2 separate regions of the Homo sapiens genome follow, and region 2 is linked to region 1. Evidence: promoter capture Hi-C in 16 types of primary human blood cells and fetal thymus (Javierre and others, 2016). All regions are on one chromosome and are shown on one strand. Each heading gives the region's core, a stretch centred on a gene start or on the middle of the fragment in contact. The rest is flanking DNA. Distances are from core to core; before and after follow the strand shown.

Evidence for each region. The method cuts DNA at HindIII sites, captures the fragments that hold promoters and counts their contacts. A CHiCAGO score of 5 or more calls a contact.
Region 2: a contact is called between a fragment that was not itself captured here and the fragment with the promoter of CRYGD in region 1, in 2 of 17 cell types (neutrophils and total CD4 T cells). The highest score is 6.7, in neutrophils.

The regions. Positions count from the first base shown.
Region 1 is chr2:208,123,218-208,127,021 of GRCh38, forward strand. It overlaps CRYGD (crystallin gamma D), which reads right to left and starts at 1,307. Exons shown (of 3, transcript NM_006891.4): 1 at 1,248-1,307; 2 at 895-1,137. The coding sequence starts at 1,256. The region is part of intron 1 of LOC100507443 (a long non-coding RNA gene); the gene reads left to right. The HindIII fragment of the contact is 13,257 bases long and covers 1-3,804 here.
Region 2 is chr2:206,706,387-206,710,534 of GRCh38, forward strand. DYTN (dystrotelin) reads right to left here. Exons shown (of 12, transcript NM_001093730.1): 2 at 4,138-4,148; 3 at 916-1,117. Among named protein-coding and RNA genes, the nearest start is that of DYTN, 9.9 kb to the right of the region's middle. The HindIII fragment of the contact is 4,270 bases long and covers 30-4,148 here.

The DNA of each region.
Region 1 (3,804 bases), core at 57-2,556:
TTTATTAAATAAATATATTATTAAATACATTATATTCATTAAATATATTTAATGTAAATATATTTAAAATATAAAAATATGTATTTTAAATATAAGTATTTAAAATATATTAAATATATCATTTAATATATTGAATTAAATGATAATGCATCATTTAAATCAATGACATAAATAAAATATGTTAAATATATAAGCCTTCTATTCAAAATATAAGTGTTTTAAATATATTAAAATATAAATATTTAAAATATATTAAAATATAAAATGTTAAATATCTTCATATATTAAAGAACAATTAATTCTAAGTCAATAACTTGTGAATGCAATGAAGAAAAATGGAGGAAGAAACATCAGTAAGTCCAAGGACGAATTTTGCATAAACTTTAGTGTTCTAACACACATATGGGATAAAAGGGACACATGTGTAAAATATGTGTGTTGCTCTCCTTTGAAGGAAAGTCTTACTTATATAGGTTGGGAAAACCCAAAATATGCAAGAGAGGAGCAAAAACGGGAAAAAGTCTCAAAAGAAATTACCCTGTTTGCTCAGTAACTGCTGTACGCTCTAGCATTTATTCTTCTATTGGGTATTAGTGGTTTTTCTACAACTCCATTCTAAATGATTCCAGAATAGGACTTAAGTCTTATACAACCCCTAGGGCAGGAGACACATTCCTACTCAATACATATTTGTGGATTAATTGTGATTAACTGGTGTCTGGGTAATACTTTGCTTATGTGGGGAGCAAACTCTATTGACTTAATCCACTATAGTTCATCTTTTGTCCACTCTCAGTTATTGTGACTGATCACTACTTCTAATGTTTAACTTTTGCTTGAAACCATCCAGTGAGTGTCCTGAGGGCCTGGGTCCTGACTTGAGGATGTACTCACGTGGGGGATGAGGCGGCAGGAGCGGACCGAGTCGCTGAGGCCCATCCACTGCTGGTGGTCGGCATAGTCGCCGCGGCGCAGGAAGTACTGGAGGCCCGAGTAGTTGGGCTGCTCATAGAGCATCCAGCAGCCGCTGTCCACGCGCGCCGAGTTGCAGCGGCTCAAGTAGGGCTGCAGGTTGGGGTGGTCGCTGCTGCATTCATAGTGGCGGCCCTGGAAGCCCCGGTCCTCGTAGAGGGTGATCTGCAAGGCAAGGCGGGACAAGGCGAGGTCTCACAGGCCTGCTCCTGCCCCAGTCTCTGGCCCCCGCGATGGAGGAAGCTCCGGGGTCCCGGGGCGCAGGCTGGGCTCACCTTCCCCATGGCTGGCTGGGCGCACGGCGGTGCTGAGCTGGTGGGGCGGCGGCGCTGAGCGGGTGGGGCTGCGGCGCGGCGGGCTATATAGCAGGAGGGCTGCTGCGTTGGCAAGAACCGCACAAAAGGGGCCCCCGGAGGGGAGCAAGGGCATTTTCGTGTTCTCTTTTTTTCTCTTTGCTGTGCTAGACCACGGGGCTTGTTGTGGGTTTTGGTCGCATTCTCTCTGGAGTATTCGGATTGCTATCACTGGCTGATGCTATTGAGAATGTTTGTAAAACGGCAATTTGGGACATTGTCTATTTATAATGGAAGTGGAGCTTCAGCTATTTCACATATAGTTCACGCTTTTATTCGTATAGATTGGGGAAAAACAAAAAAAATTTAAGTCGGGGAGCAAAAAAAGCAACGACTCTTAATAAGGCAAATATAAATTAATCTGTCAGAACTACAGTATTACTTACGTGCCACAATATTGAATACTGATTGTTAATAGGAAGGAAATGGGCTTAACTGAATGTTGAAAATTTCAAGTTAGTCCTTTAAGAGAACGTCATCATGAAAGGGTGTAAGAAATTGGAACATTTTATTAAGAGAGTTCACAGAATTTCGAACTTTTATTATGGTAAAACACACAGCAAACGTGAATCTTCAATATTGGGTCTGATTTTGTTGCAATTATGCCTGGAAGTAGCTGAGAATTAGATGTTTTTCTCTTAGCTAAAGGTGGTGCCGTGATTCAAAAGAGAGAATAGTTCTAAGATGCTTAATCTCAGAAAGAACTAAAAAGGGAAATATCTAAGTTTGAGGAAATTAGAAAAAGTAATATGTTTGAAACACAAAAACATGATCTCTTAGCTTGTTATAAAATAAAACCAAATTCCTAAGAAACTTATTTCTGGTAGGATCTAGAATACACCTTTGCCCTCTGAACGAGCGAGAGTACACAAGGCCTTTGACTCAGACGAAATTAATTGCATGAACACAAAGGGGAGCTATGGCTGGAATGATGCAGGGAGAGGAAGGAATAAAAATCTAGAAGTTGGACTCGAGGAAGACTTCAGAAAGTACTTATTGGCCTGGAAGAGAGCAGTTTGATGGACTGGGAAGAGTACTGGAGTGGAATATGACCTATGTGTCCAGCTTCTTTCATGTTCAAAGAATTGCTTACAGCCCTGTGTCAACCCATGGAAGTACTTTGTCTTGTCTTTGAGTCATAAATCTTTGTAAGTGGTATTTATGAATTAAACACCAACTATGTGCAATACAAATTATTTTAATTCTTATTTTCTGGCTGCTTTTTTTTTTTTGTATTCTTTCTATATAGAGCTCTACGGTGGTAGGGAAATACCTTTTTCTTTTGTTTTGTTTTGATTGTTTTCTTCATCCCCATTGCTACATATAGCAGGCGTATGGTAGGTGCTCAAAAATTGGTAAGGATCCTAACTCAAGGAAGTTAAGAGTCTCTAGTGGCTAATAATTGGAGGCTATTGAAATGGAAAATAAACTTGTGGCTGGGTGTGGTGGCTCACACCTGTAATCCCAGCACTTTCGGAGGCCAAGGTGGGAGGGTCACTTGAGCCCAGGAGTTCGAGACCAGCCCTGGCAACATAGTGAGACCCCTTCTCTACAAAAAAGTGAAAAAATTAGTCAGGCATGGTGGTGCGCGCCTGTAGCCCCAGCTACTTAGGAGGCTGAGATGGGAGGATCGCTTGAGCCTGTGAGGTCGAGGCTGCAGTGAGCTGGGTTTGTGCCACTGCACTCCATCCTGGACAACAGAGTGTGACCATGTCTCAAAAAATAAATAAATAAAATAAAATAAACTTGCACTATGAGCCGGTAGTCTCACTTCTAGGTCGCTATCTTTTTAAAATTATGGCATGTCAGGATTAGCGTATATGTACAATGTTATTCTTTGCAGCATTGTTGGTAAAAGCAACATTGGAAAAGCCCAGTCACTTAAGTGGACAAATGGTGAAATGGTCTAAGGGACCTCCAAACAATGGGATGCAATTCAACCATCAAACAGAATAAGATACTGACCTAGATATATGTCCATATTATAATACATTTTAAAAGCAAGTTGCAGACTAATATGTATAGCATGATTCCATTTTTGTAAAGAAAAGAAGCATGTGTTTTATAAGAGAGCTATATAAACAAGGAGAAAATCCCAGAAGGGTGCCCACCAACTATAAACAAGAGTTAGCAATGAGGGGCGTCAGAAGGACTCCCCTCAACTTCTTTATAGAATTTGTACAGTAGTAAGATTATGGGAGGCCTTTTACTTTGAAGGGAAATTTTTAAGTTAAAATAAATAAATTCTCTGCTGATGAAAAGACTCGTAATTGCTTTCTTTTTTTTTTTTTATTTTTACTTTTTAGGGCTTTGCTTATGAGCAAGCAGATTTTAGTTTAATAAAAGGCTCCAGAAATTATGGCTTCTTTAAAGCACCTTTAAATTTGAGCCCATTTTGTAATTACAGGACTTACGTATTTGTTTATTTAAACTTTTATTTTAGATTTAGGGGCACGTATCCAGGTTTGTAATACAGGTA
Region 2 (4,148 bases), core at 915-3,414, 1.4 Mb before region 1:
AGGCACAGATAATAGAAATGACAGTCAAAAGCTTAATGTTTAAGGAAGCTGAAATGAAAAAATAACTTGAGAATGTATGTATATATTGTTTGGGCAGTTAAAAAAAATTAAAAAAAAAAAAAACTAGAAGAGAAAATAACTGTAAGGAATTTGCCCAGTGGTTAAAACAGTGCTTGCCTCTGGGAGGCAGGCTGATGGGTGATAATGTATTTCTTCTTCTTTACTTTTTTCGTCTACTTTCCAAATGTTTTGAATTCACTATGATTTTTGAAAAGTTTATTCTAAAGGATGAATTCTAAAGGATGAAGTCTACTGAGTCAATGATACATAAGGTAAACCAAATCGAGGAGGGGGCAGAGGAATTGAAACCTTACAGCTCAAAAAACACACGCACCCCTACCACACACTAGCAGAACTATTGACTTCAGAGCATATGCAATCAGCCCTTTGACATGGTCTACACTGGTTTATAGGTTACCCATCCATGCACAGGATTTTCAACCTTATTCTAGCTAAAAAAAAAAAAAAAACAATTGATAATGGTTTACAAAGAAATCAGCAAAGAAGCTAGCAGTAGCAAGAACTAAGTGTCGCTTTTCACATGTGTATATGGAAGTGTAAACGCCCTAGCAAAAGGTGTGTATGCTTCTCTAGAGTAGGAGTGAATTTGTCTGAAGGAAAGAATAATGTGGAATTCTCTCCCTCTTTTTGCTATCCATGGGTCATTTATATTCCTAAAGCCGATGGGCATTTACTCCTTTGTTCTACTCCTGAGGAATAAATTTGTGAAAAACAAACAAAGAAGACTTCTTATATACCAAACCTCAAGCAAATATTAGCCAGCACCAAATGGTAAATGACCACTGGAAACTAAACTTTGCCTTTGAGGTCACAGCGCGACGTCCACACCCTCACCTGTTGTACATTGTCGTGAGAAGGCTCAGAGTGAGTTCCGGAGCTCTGGGATGCACTTGTCCTGGGTTTTCCTCCCTGGCCTTCTGAAACAGCTCTTGGAGTGCCTGAGAAAGTTGCTGCACAGAAAGGGAGTGCTTGCGAGCTTCCCAGAAACTTGGACGCAGTAGGACCTGCTGAATCAGGGAGCTGTCAATCAAGTCCACTGTAGGAAGCAAATGAAGAATTGAGCCTTATTTTCTGATGGGAACAAAAGGCTTCAAATAAAGCAAATGTCATTTGGTGTTTTATAATTAAGACTTTTTATGGTCGCTATTTTCTTTTAAGGGGAATGAAATATGACTACTATTTGGACATATATTCCTTGTGTATACTTCAGGCGTTACTATTCTAGCGATTCATTTGATTTTGGAAAGGTGCATCTGTTAGTAAAGCATAGTTGTAACATTATTACCAGTACAGTTTCTAGGATGTTGTTTTATAGAAAGAAGTTAAAAAGGGAAGTGAGAAACGAAAAATACGCTTTCCAAGAAAGTTATGACACTGTGGTAAAAAGTTGGGGAAAACATTTTTATACTCTTCATTAAGTGGATTGAATAAATTTACCTTTCCTGTTCAAATATAGTTTTTCTTGTCTGCAGCCCAGCTTCAGAAGCAATATGGTGTGTTGAAAAGCAATTGCCGTAGTTAAATACAAAACAGTGATCTTCATAAAAGAGCAGTTACTCTTCTGTAAAGATCTTTAGGCTAAAGAGTCTGAGAATTCTGCAACTCAGTAATACCACTGTTAACAATCTTGGTTCCATCAGTATTATTATCTAGAGAAGGCACTTAATAAAACTACAGCTGCTTACAAAAAATAATGGTTTATTTCTTATACTGAATATTTTTTAACCACCTTCTCCTAAAATTTTTACAAGGCAATGAATAGAAACAAGAATGTAATAGAGCTAACCCCATAGCTTCTTGCAGAGAGAGGATGACAGACAAAATTAATAAACAGCCACTTGCACCATCTGAGAGGTGGGGATATCAAGAGCGCCAAGAGCTCCTGGCATTTAAAACGCTTCAGCCTGTGAAACCATAAAACCCTGGGTTTCTCTCTACTTCGTAAATCAACCTCAGATAAGAAATCTAGCAAGTATAATAAAAATTTTTATTTGTTCTCTGATATTGCTTTTAAGAGGAGAGTCTAAGGAACAGAGGAACAAGTTTCAGAATGTGACTTAAATAAAAACCTGGCTGCAGGTGGTGAAGGCTGTAAACTCTTTTATCGTTAAAACCTGTCACCTCAGCCAGGCATTCTGAACACAGGCCGATTTCATCTCCTGCTGAGAGTTCTATATTACACCAAACCAGATAATAGTGGTGTCCATTAATCTCACCACAAGATTTATACAGCGATGTGTCCCCGATCTTCCTATTTGGAGCTCATGTTATGCTTTATCTCAGTGTTTGGGATTTTCTGTTTTTAAATTTTTGTTTGGATATCTTTTCTAGGTAACATTTTTCAACCACTGATTTTGTGTATTGTTAATATTTCCCATGAGTGTTATTTATATTCACTGTTTCTGATGCCAGAGATAACAAAAAGTTGAAAACTGTGCATCCACAAATTACGCTACGGAACATACTCAGGCATTCGTGACTGGGACATGTGAACAATTGCTGCTAACTTTCTCTAATGGGAGAAATTCTCCAGGAAAATGCATAATTGGGGGTAAATTTTTAGCTTTTTGTTTGTTCCTGGAATAATAAATAATAGTTATAAGTGAGTTTCTTTATCTAGAGCAGTAATCTACATAAAACTGTTTTTAAAACCAAAAATTTCTTCTTCAAAGGAACCTAATACAGAAACACAGTATAAGGCCAGGCGCGGTGGCTGATGCCTGTAATCCCAGCACTTTGGGAGGCCACTGTGGGCAGATCAGTTGAGCTCAGGAGTTCAAGACCAGCCCGGGCAACATGGCGAAACCCTGTCTCTACTAAAAATACAAAAAATTGGCAGGGTGTGGTGGCTCACGCCTGTGGTCCCAGCTACTCGGGAGGTTGAGGTGGAAGGATGGCTTCAGCCTGGGAGGCAGAGGTTGCAGTGAGCTGAGATCCCTCCACTGCACTCCAGCCTGGGTGACAGAGTGAGACCCCAGCTTACACACACACAGACACACACACACACACACACATACAAGCAAACACGGTATGGAAAATAGAGAAGGATGGAGTTGTTCCTGCTGAGGATGTGGTCTTTGAATCGTCCCACCTTGCTTGCAACTCCTCTTCCCACCTGGCTAACTCTTTTTTGCCCTACCCTACATTCACATATATTTTGTGAAGCCCAATTTGAAAACCACTGCCCTATATAACTTTTTAGGCAGGAGGAAAAATATTTTTAAATGTCAGCCTTCAGTAGAAATGTCATATATATAACATAACTTCTCTTAGGTCTGATATGATAAATTTCAGAAATCATTTTACGTGAAGTGATTTTTCTTTCATGCAGTGAGAAATCAATAACTTTAGATATGCTGAATGCCTGATGTGTTTCATAGCTTGGACCCAGTTTATTTTTCACCTTGGAAAATTTTCACAGGATACATGTTTTAGTAAAAACATTTTACCTTATTTTGCCTAGATAACAGTAGGAGAAAAGAAAAGAAAAGAAAACCATACATTCAATCAGATATAAATTTACTGCAAAAAGGGGCAGTTCTCAGGGAATTCTCGAGATAGTTTTAAAATTCATGGTCCATGGGTTATTTATTCATTTGTACCTACTTTTGCATGTTCATATATAGATTATAGGTACAACTTGAAAATGCAAATCTTACGTGGTAGATGGAATTTTATATTTTTATACTTAAATCTATAAGTGCAGTTTTGAAAATACTTTTTTTTTGCAATTTTATTTTGTGTCCATATTGGTATCCTGAAAAGGAAACCAAAAACATTTTCTAGAAGAAGCCAAGTGGAGAAAATATTTAAAAAATTAAAAATCCTCATGCACAATTATTTCTATTGCTCATCAGCAAAACTACACATGGTTTGCCTGCACGTGATGTTTTCCCATCCTCCATCTTCTCTGTCACGAATGGGCTAAATGCACAAGTCCAGACTTCCAGAATCCAGTAGTCAGCTGCATGGGGGGAGTGTTTGTTTTCTCTATGAATTTTACATCGCACATCAAGCTCAGATTATTTCAAATATTTCAGGAGAGCCTATACTTACACTGGCACAGA